Regions from separate parts of the Homo sapiens genome. Here region 2 is linked to region 1. Evidence: promoter capture Hi-C in human tissues and cell types (Jung and others, 2019). All regions are on one chromosome and are shown on one strand. The core of a region is centred on a gene start or on the middle of the fragment in contact, and the rest is flanking DNA. Distances in the headings are between cores, read along the strand shown. Region 1 holds the start of FGFBP2 (fibroblast growth factor binding protein 2). Region 2 overlaps CLRN2 (clarin 2).

Evidence for each region. Contacts are between HindIII fragments. The study calls those that stand out against the background at their distance.
Region 2: a fragment that was not itself captured here is called in contact with the fragment with the promoter of FGFBP2 in region 1 in 1 of the 25 tissues and cell types used here (dorsolateral prefrontal cortex).

The regions. Positions count from the first base shown.
Region 1 is chr4:15,961,242-15,965,093 of GRCh38, reverse strand. FGFBP2 (fibroblast growth factor binding protein 2) reads left to right here and starts at 1,919. Exons shown (of 2, transcript NM_031950.4): 1 at 1,919-2,656. The coding sequence starts at 1,965. The coding sequence ends at 2,636. RefSeq lists an enhancer at 1,048-1,889. The HindIII fragment of the contact is 18,537 bases long and covers 1-3,852 here.
Region 2 is chr4:17,516,597-17,520,448 of GRCh38, reverse strand. The region is part of intron 1 of CLRN2 (clarin 2); the gene reads right to left. Among named protein-coding and RNA genes, the nearest start is that of CLRN2, 3.4 kb to the right of the region's middle. The HindIII fragment of the contact is 3,904 bases long and covers 1-3,719 here.

The sequences.
Region 1 (3,852 bases), core at 670-3,169:
TTGGCCAGGCGCAGTGGCTCGTGCCTGTAATCTCAGCACTTAGGGAGGCTGAAGTGGGCGGATCACTTGTTAGGAGTTTGAGGCCAGCCTGGCCAACGTCGTGAAACCCCATCTCTACTAAAAACACAAAAATTAGCCTGGCATGGTGGTAGGCGCCTGTAATCCCAACTACTCAGGTGGCTGAGGCAGGACAATTGCTTGAACCTGGGAGGTGGAGGTTGCAGTGAGCCAAGATTGTGCCACTGCACTCCAGCCTGGGTGGCAAAGTAAGACTGTGTGAAAAAAAAAAAAAACCTACCTTTAGCTGGTTGTGGTGGTTCACATCTGTAATTCCAGTGACTCCAGAGGACAAGGAAGCAGGAGGATTGCTTGAGGCCTGGAGTGTGAGATCGGCCTGGACAACAGAGTGAGACCCTGTCCCTAAAAATTTTAAATTTAAAATTTAGCTGGGTGTGGCAGCCCATGCCTGTAGTCCCAGTTACTTGAGAGGCTGAGGCAGGAGAAGTAATTGAGCCCAGGAGTTGGAGGCTACAGTGAGCTATAATTACACCAGTGCAATCCGGTCTAGGTGACAGAATGAGGCCAAAACAAACAAACAAACAAACAAACAAAAAAAACACCTGCCCTTTACCCTTTCTCAACCTGACAAATTGACTGACTTGTCTTGAAGGTTTGGCACCACTTCTTGGAAGCTTCCTCTGCTCCCCACCTGGGGTGATGCCCTCTTCTGGAAGGCTCTCACTGCTACACACACAGTGGCTGCCGAAGCTCAGCCTGGCTTTAGTTCCAGCCCTACTAGGTCTTCTCAGGACTCAGGATATCCAGGTGGAAGGAAGGCTGTGCCAGGTACCAACTACCCTACGTGGGATCGCCAAGATAAATCCCTCACATTCAAACTAGTCCCCCAACATCCGTCAACCCTATTCCTAACAGCAAATTGCCACCTTTAGTCCACTCCACAGTGCCCTCTGGAAGGGTCATCAAAAGACAGTTATGACCATACCAAACTATGATTCTTGACACAGAATCAAAAGTTATTTTCAATTTATTTTTTTTCTATTGTAGAACAATAATAATAATATTTAAAATCATATTTTCCTGTGATATAATTAAAACTGTGTTATTTCAATTGAATTTGAAATAGAATTCATGGTCTAAAATAGACTGAATCCCACTGTGAACATATATTTGCATGCCTTCCTCGTCATCATTCAGTTGGTGCAATTGTAAGGCATGCAATAACAAGGGAAGTGAACATTGCAGCACTGTGGCCTGTGGCCACGGTGATGGCGGGACAGCCCCACAGAGGCCACACCAGGTGACTCTCAGCTCGGTGGGTGGGAGGGGGAGTGTCTCTGTGTCCCTCTGGCACACACATCCTCACACAACCTCACATAGTCTTTTTTGCATTTGCTAGGCCATCTCATAACACTTAGGCTCATAAAATTCTGGCTTCCTTTGGATTAACTAAACCCATGGTCCCCCAAGATGGGGATTCCAGGGAGCAGGAGGGAGCCTCGAGGCAGCCCAGACTCCCAGCTGCAAACCTCACTTTCCAGAATACCACTGCCACACCTTGGCATATACCAAATGTTGACAAAGAAGGCTGTTCCCGTACAAGGGCCAATTTTAGAGCAAGCACCCTGTGGTTGGAAAACTGTAAAACCCTCAGCCCCAAAGCTGTGTGTGGCGCTTTGTGCGTGACAGGGCTGGGGCAGATCTCTCTGAGGCACTCAGGAAAACCATTCCCTTTGCTTGTGGTGGGCGGCCCCTGGTGGCTGCTCTGCCCTTGCCAAGTGTTACGTGTCTAAGGTCTGTGGGCATGTTTCTCATTTGCTGCAAAACATCCTCCCCACCCTTGCAGAGAAAGAGTCTTTTGTGCAGCACCCTTTAAAGGGTGACTCGTCCCACTTGTGTTCTCTCTCCTGGTGCAGAGTTGCAAGCAAGTTTATCGGAGTATCGCCATGAAGTTCGTCCCCTGCCTCCTGCTGGTGACCTTGTCCTGCCTGGGGACTTTGGGTCAGGCCCCGAGGCAAAAGCAAGGAAGCACTGGGGAGGAATTCCATTTCCAGACTGGAGGGAGAGATTCCTGCACTATGCGTCCCAGCAGCTTGGGGCAAGGTGCTGGAGAAGTCTGGCTTCGTGTCGACTGCCGCAACACAGACCAGACCTACTGGTGTGAGTACAGGGGGCAGCCCAGCATGTGCCAGGCTTTCGCTGCTGACCCCAAACCTTACTGGAATCAAGCCCTGCAGGAGCTGAGGCGCCTTCACCATGCGTGCCAGGGGGCCCCGGTGCTTAGGCCATCCGTGTGCAGGGAGGCTGGACCCCAGGCCCATATGCAGCAGGTGACTTCCAGCCTCAAGGGCAGCCCAGAGCCCAACCAGCAGCCTGAGGCTGGGACGCCATCTCTGAGGCCCAAGGCCACAGTGAAACTCACAGAAGCAACACAGCTGGGAAAGGACTCGATGGAAGAGCTGGGAAAAGCCAAACCCACCACCCGACCCACAGCCAAACCTACCCAGCCTGGACCCAGGCCCGGAGGGAATGAGGAAGCAAAGAAGAAGGCCTGGGAACATTGTTGGAAACCCTTCCAGGCCCTGTGCGCCTTTCTCATCAGCTTCTTCCGAGGGTGACAGGTGAAAGACCCCTACAGGTAATACCCTTTCCTTTACTCATATACAGAGACTACGTGTATATACTTATATACAGAGACTACGTGAGAGGCACTTAGCACTTTCACAGCTGCTGCGACCACATCAGAGTCTCAGCGTGTGTTTGGGGGTGGGTTTGAGGCTGTCTGTTGCAGAGCAGTGTAGATGAGGTAGTTCATCCGGAGTGGCACTTGACCCTGGAGTTGCATAGGAATCACCTACAAGGAGCTCTAAAAATGCTGATGCCCAGGCCCCTCGCCAGACCGTTCCATCTATGTCTCCAACATAGTAGCGCAGGAATGTGGACTTTTAAAACTCTCCCCCAAGTGATTTGAATGTGCAGCCAAGGTTGAGAATCTCCTTGTGATGGAACCACCTCACTGTTAGACCGAGGCCTTTGGAATTCTGCCGGGTAACGTTTCCTAATGAACCAAGCATTTGCTGCAGCTGTTAGTGGCCGAGGTGCTATGTCATGGTGGAGGTGTCGCCACACCCCGTCTTGTTCTCAGTTTTTTCTCCTACAGTCAAGTTAGGGTGGGGAGTGTTGTGCACTGAGGAAAGTTTGAGTCAAATAGTCTTTAAAGTCTTTCTCACAGCTCTCAAAGCCTTTAATTGTTTTTTGTTCATCACAGAGGAGAAAATCTAATTAATAATAACAGATTTAATCAACTCCAAGTATTGCTTTTAAAAGACCAAACTTTTTCTTGTGGAAATAAGGCTTATTACTGATCTCTATCCTTAAATGTAGCAGCTTTCATTAATTTTGCACACCAGTAAGGAGTTCATTTACATGGGATTCTAGTCTTACTTGTGCACTTTGAGTTTAAAAGGAGAGTTTCTGAGTTTTTTTCATATTATCTATGTAAGAAAAATAGGAACAAAGCAGATTTCCTGATAAACAGCACTTTGATAACGAATACCACCAAACAAATAAGGCTTTTTCTACAAGCGCCCAGGCAGCAAGAAATGTTGGTTCACAACAAAGTTGTTTTGGTGTCTGCTGTTCTGGGCTGGAGGTTTTCTGCTTGTTTAAGATTTCAGATCTGTCCCAGAGGAGAAAAGGGGACACTTAAGCCAAAAAAAGTTACTATTGAGAGGAGGTCCTTTTTTTTTTCTTTTTAAAGTGATTTTTTTGGTCTTTCTACAAATAAGACATACAAATCATTTGAAAAATTCAAACACAACAGAAAAATACAAA
Region 2 (3,852 bases), core at 518-3,017, 1.6 Mb before region 1:
CAAAGCGTGGATCAAATATTGGATATTCATTACAATAGCAAAAGATTGGAGAAAAAACAGTATGTGAATAGACTGATTTAATAAAGTATCCATAATGTCCATAATGTATATAATTCATCTTTTAAAAAGAAAGAATTATATCCACATAATGATTGAAACCATATCCAGATTTGATTTTTAAAAATTGAGAAATAATCATATTAGGATGACGGGGGAGAGGGAATTTGGGGAATGTGGAGTGATGTGGAGAGGGTGGTAAAGAGTGCCCAGTCCTCGGCCTTCATAGTAGGAAGTGCATTAACTATAATTAAAAAATACTTATTGGCAAAGGGCAAATCTCACTCAACCCCCACATTCTTGGGCCATAACACAGGGCTCAGGACCTCATGTTTAATAGAGATTTTATTATTTTTTAATATATGTCATTATTTAGAAATTCGAGGCTGGGGCAGTGGCTCATGCCTGTAATCCCAGCACTTCTGGGAGCCATTATGGGGGGATTGCTTGAGGCTAGGAGTTGGAGATAAGTCTGGGCAACATAGCAAGGCTCTGTCTCTAAATTAAATTATTTTTTAAAAAAGAAGAAAAAAGTAGAAATTCAAATCATTTCTCAGGAGTGTTAATGCACCAGTTCTTTCTACTTTCTCACTGAGAGGTGACTCTGCCTTAGCCTGACACCCAGTGCTGCCCTAGGAAAGCTGTTGCTCACTTGCCTTTCACATTTGAAATCCAGGTTCCAAGAGTTTTAGATGTCTCCCACTAGGAATTAAATTTAAGTTTCTAGCTTGAAATCCATGACCCTACACACGACTCATGGTGATAAATGACAACACGATTCATGGTGATAAATGACAACAGCCACCTATATGGGGTGCAGACTATGTGCCGGTGGCTTTATACATATTCTTTGTTCTGTTGCTCATGGACACCCTCTCTCATGCTTACAAATGAGGAAACTGAGGCTCGGAGAAGTGAAATAGCTTAGCTACGCTCCCACAGCAAGAAAAGTGTCAGCTTAACTACTCTATTACAGGGCTAGAGCAGAAAAATCAGAAAGCACAGATAAGTAGAGGTTTAAAATTCTAAACATAGAGTCTTTTGAATCCTGGAGGTCTCATTTTGAATTTGAATAGATATAGTTGTTTCCTACACATTAGAGGCAACTCACTTGAAAGCAGAATTGATTAATCATTCTATCAGCATCATTCTATCAGCATATGATGCATCTATCAGCATCTATCAGCATATGATGCATCTATCAGCATCTATCAGCATCTAAGATAATTTGTTTGCTCCGAATCCCAGAGAGGTCTGGCAGTCCTTTTCGCCCCAGCAGGGCAAATAAGAAAAGCAGGACATCTGAAGTCAAACCCAGGTCCTGGCCACTAGTGGAATACCTGTGAGGCAGGAAGTAGAGAGGAACCAGAGAACTAAAAGCTGCAAAGCAATCTATTACATTAGGTGCTTTTAAAGAAATTATTTTATGTATCGATTTCTCTGGTCTCTAATTTCCTCATCAGTAAAATGGGCGTAATAAAATCTCTTCTCTAGCATAGTAAAAATGGAAGGAAATGAACTACAAGGCAATGGCTTCAGATACTGTGTTCTGTGCCTAGTATATATTTATCTGCCTCTCCTTTATCAGATGGTAAATTTTTCTTTCTTTTTCCTTTCTCTTTTTTTTTTTTAGATGGATTTTCACTCTTTTCACCCAGGCTGGAGTGCAATGGCACAATCTTGGCTCACTGCAACCTCCACCTCCCAAGTTCAAGTGATTCTCCTGCCTCAGCCTCCTGAGTAGCTGGGATTACAGGCACCTGCCACCACGCCCGGCTAATTTTTGTATTTTTAGTAGAGACGTGGTTTCACCATGTTGGCCAGGCTGGTCTCAAACTCCTGATCTCAGGTGATCCACCTGCCTTGGCCTCCCAAAGTGCTGGGATTACAGGCGTGAGCCACTGTACCCGGCCAGATGTTAAGCTTTTCTAGGGCAAGTACTTGTCTGGTTTGTTCATCCCTGTTTTCTTAAGAGCCTGGTCTGTAAATACTCCATAGTACAATTGAATGTGTGGACAATGCTAAAGTAATGTTTGTCTTTTTCTTTCTCTAGCCACCCAAACAGCCATGTTGACTTGTTTTTATTTCATAGGGCCTGGGTATAAAAAAAGGACCTTAATCTTTGCGATGGATAGTTCTTTGGTTTTCTCCATGATTGGCGTGGGAATTTATTCCCCTGGGTGATTTTTTGGGGAGGCCTCTGTGATGAGAAAAGTGGCTGTTTGTGAACGAGACCCAATAAACCTCCCCATCCCAGAGTTTGCAAAGCATTTTCACTTACGTCCCCATCTACACTGATCTGCGACTGTGGGGATTATTTTTTTTTTTTTCTACAGATGGATAGTGAATGGCAGAAAGAGACCCCAGGAGAAACAGACTCCTGGTTGTGGGAGGCTCTGATATACCCCGTAGCTGCCTCGAGGTTACACTGTGCTAGAATTAAAAGCTGTAAATCTAAAGGAGACTAGACTGGCACTATCAGTGTCCCTGAGCTGTACTGGGGTAAAGCCAGCCAAGCACAGGAGGAACCTGGCCCCAGGCTCCTCGTGAATGCTTTGAAAGAGAATCACATCCAAGGTACTGCGAATGGATGTTTACAGACCCTCCTCTGAGACAACCCCAGGGCAGCAGGAAACAAAACCTTCTCAAATACGCTCCTACTCAGGGACAAGAATAAAATGTCCTTTATGCTTCTCACAGGGTTCTGATGCTTTCCAGACCAGACCACGTTAGATGAACCCAGGGGAATGTTTCCCATTGGTGTCCTTCTAAGAAGGAAGAAGGAGGAAGGCAAGAAGTACTTACTGAGTTCCTCCAAGGCTCAAACAAAATATGCATTTGTTTGCAGCTTCCTACTCGAAGCAGTTTACATTTCTGTGAGCTGGGAATGGCAGGGGTCTGGTCATTAGGTTAATGCTGGCATGTGACTGCTGTTTAATCTTCTCACCCCATTCAAGTTTCAACGATTTACCTGTTGGGGTTCAGAAACCAACACCCCTAAAATATGAAGCTTTGTGAAGAAGTCTCAAGGTCTCTCTGGCCTCCCCTCTCCCTCGTGTCTCTCCATTCTTTGTCTGTCTCATAAGCACAGGATGAGGTTGTTCTCTGACATTCCCTTACCTGCCTACATCCAGACCTACCAAAGAAAAAGACCTCTGGTCCCTTCCCTGAGTGTTCATTAATTGTACCCATATCACAGGAAGAAAGACTAAAGTCTGTTAACACAGCTGGACAGACTTTTGTCACAAACCAATGTCTGCTCTGTGGGCTCAACAGACTTTGTCCCAGCTCACTGTATGTTCTTTAAGCCCATTGAATTTCCCTAAAAATAATTTACTAGTCCCCTAAAATCATCCACACTTCCCCATCTCTCTTTCCCCTAAGATGAAGAGGATACAACCACCTGTACCCCATTGAGATAGCGGACAATCACTCTGTGATTTTTCCCCTATGCATGCTAATAAATGTGTAAGCCATTTTCCCTATTAATCTGCCTTTTGTCAGTAGATTGTTTAGAGAACCTTCAGAGTGCAAAGGGGAAGTTTTCTTGACCCCTAAAGTCCCGAAGACATCCTTTATAGCAAAGCATCTAGTTCAGAATCGAGTAGTCCATGTAGTTGTCATGGTTAGCTTTTAGCATTTCTTTTTTTTATTTGTTTATGTGTGTGTGTTTTCAAGTTTTATGTTATAATTTTGATGGAGCTATTTGTTCAATATCCAGGGTCTAATCTAATTGCTAGGTAAATATAAATATGCCCAGACATATTGATCTTGAATATACATAACAAATGTAAA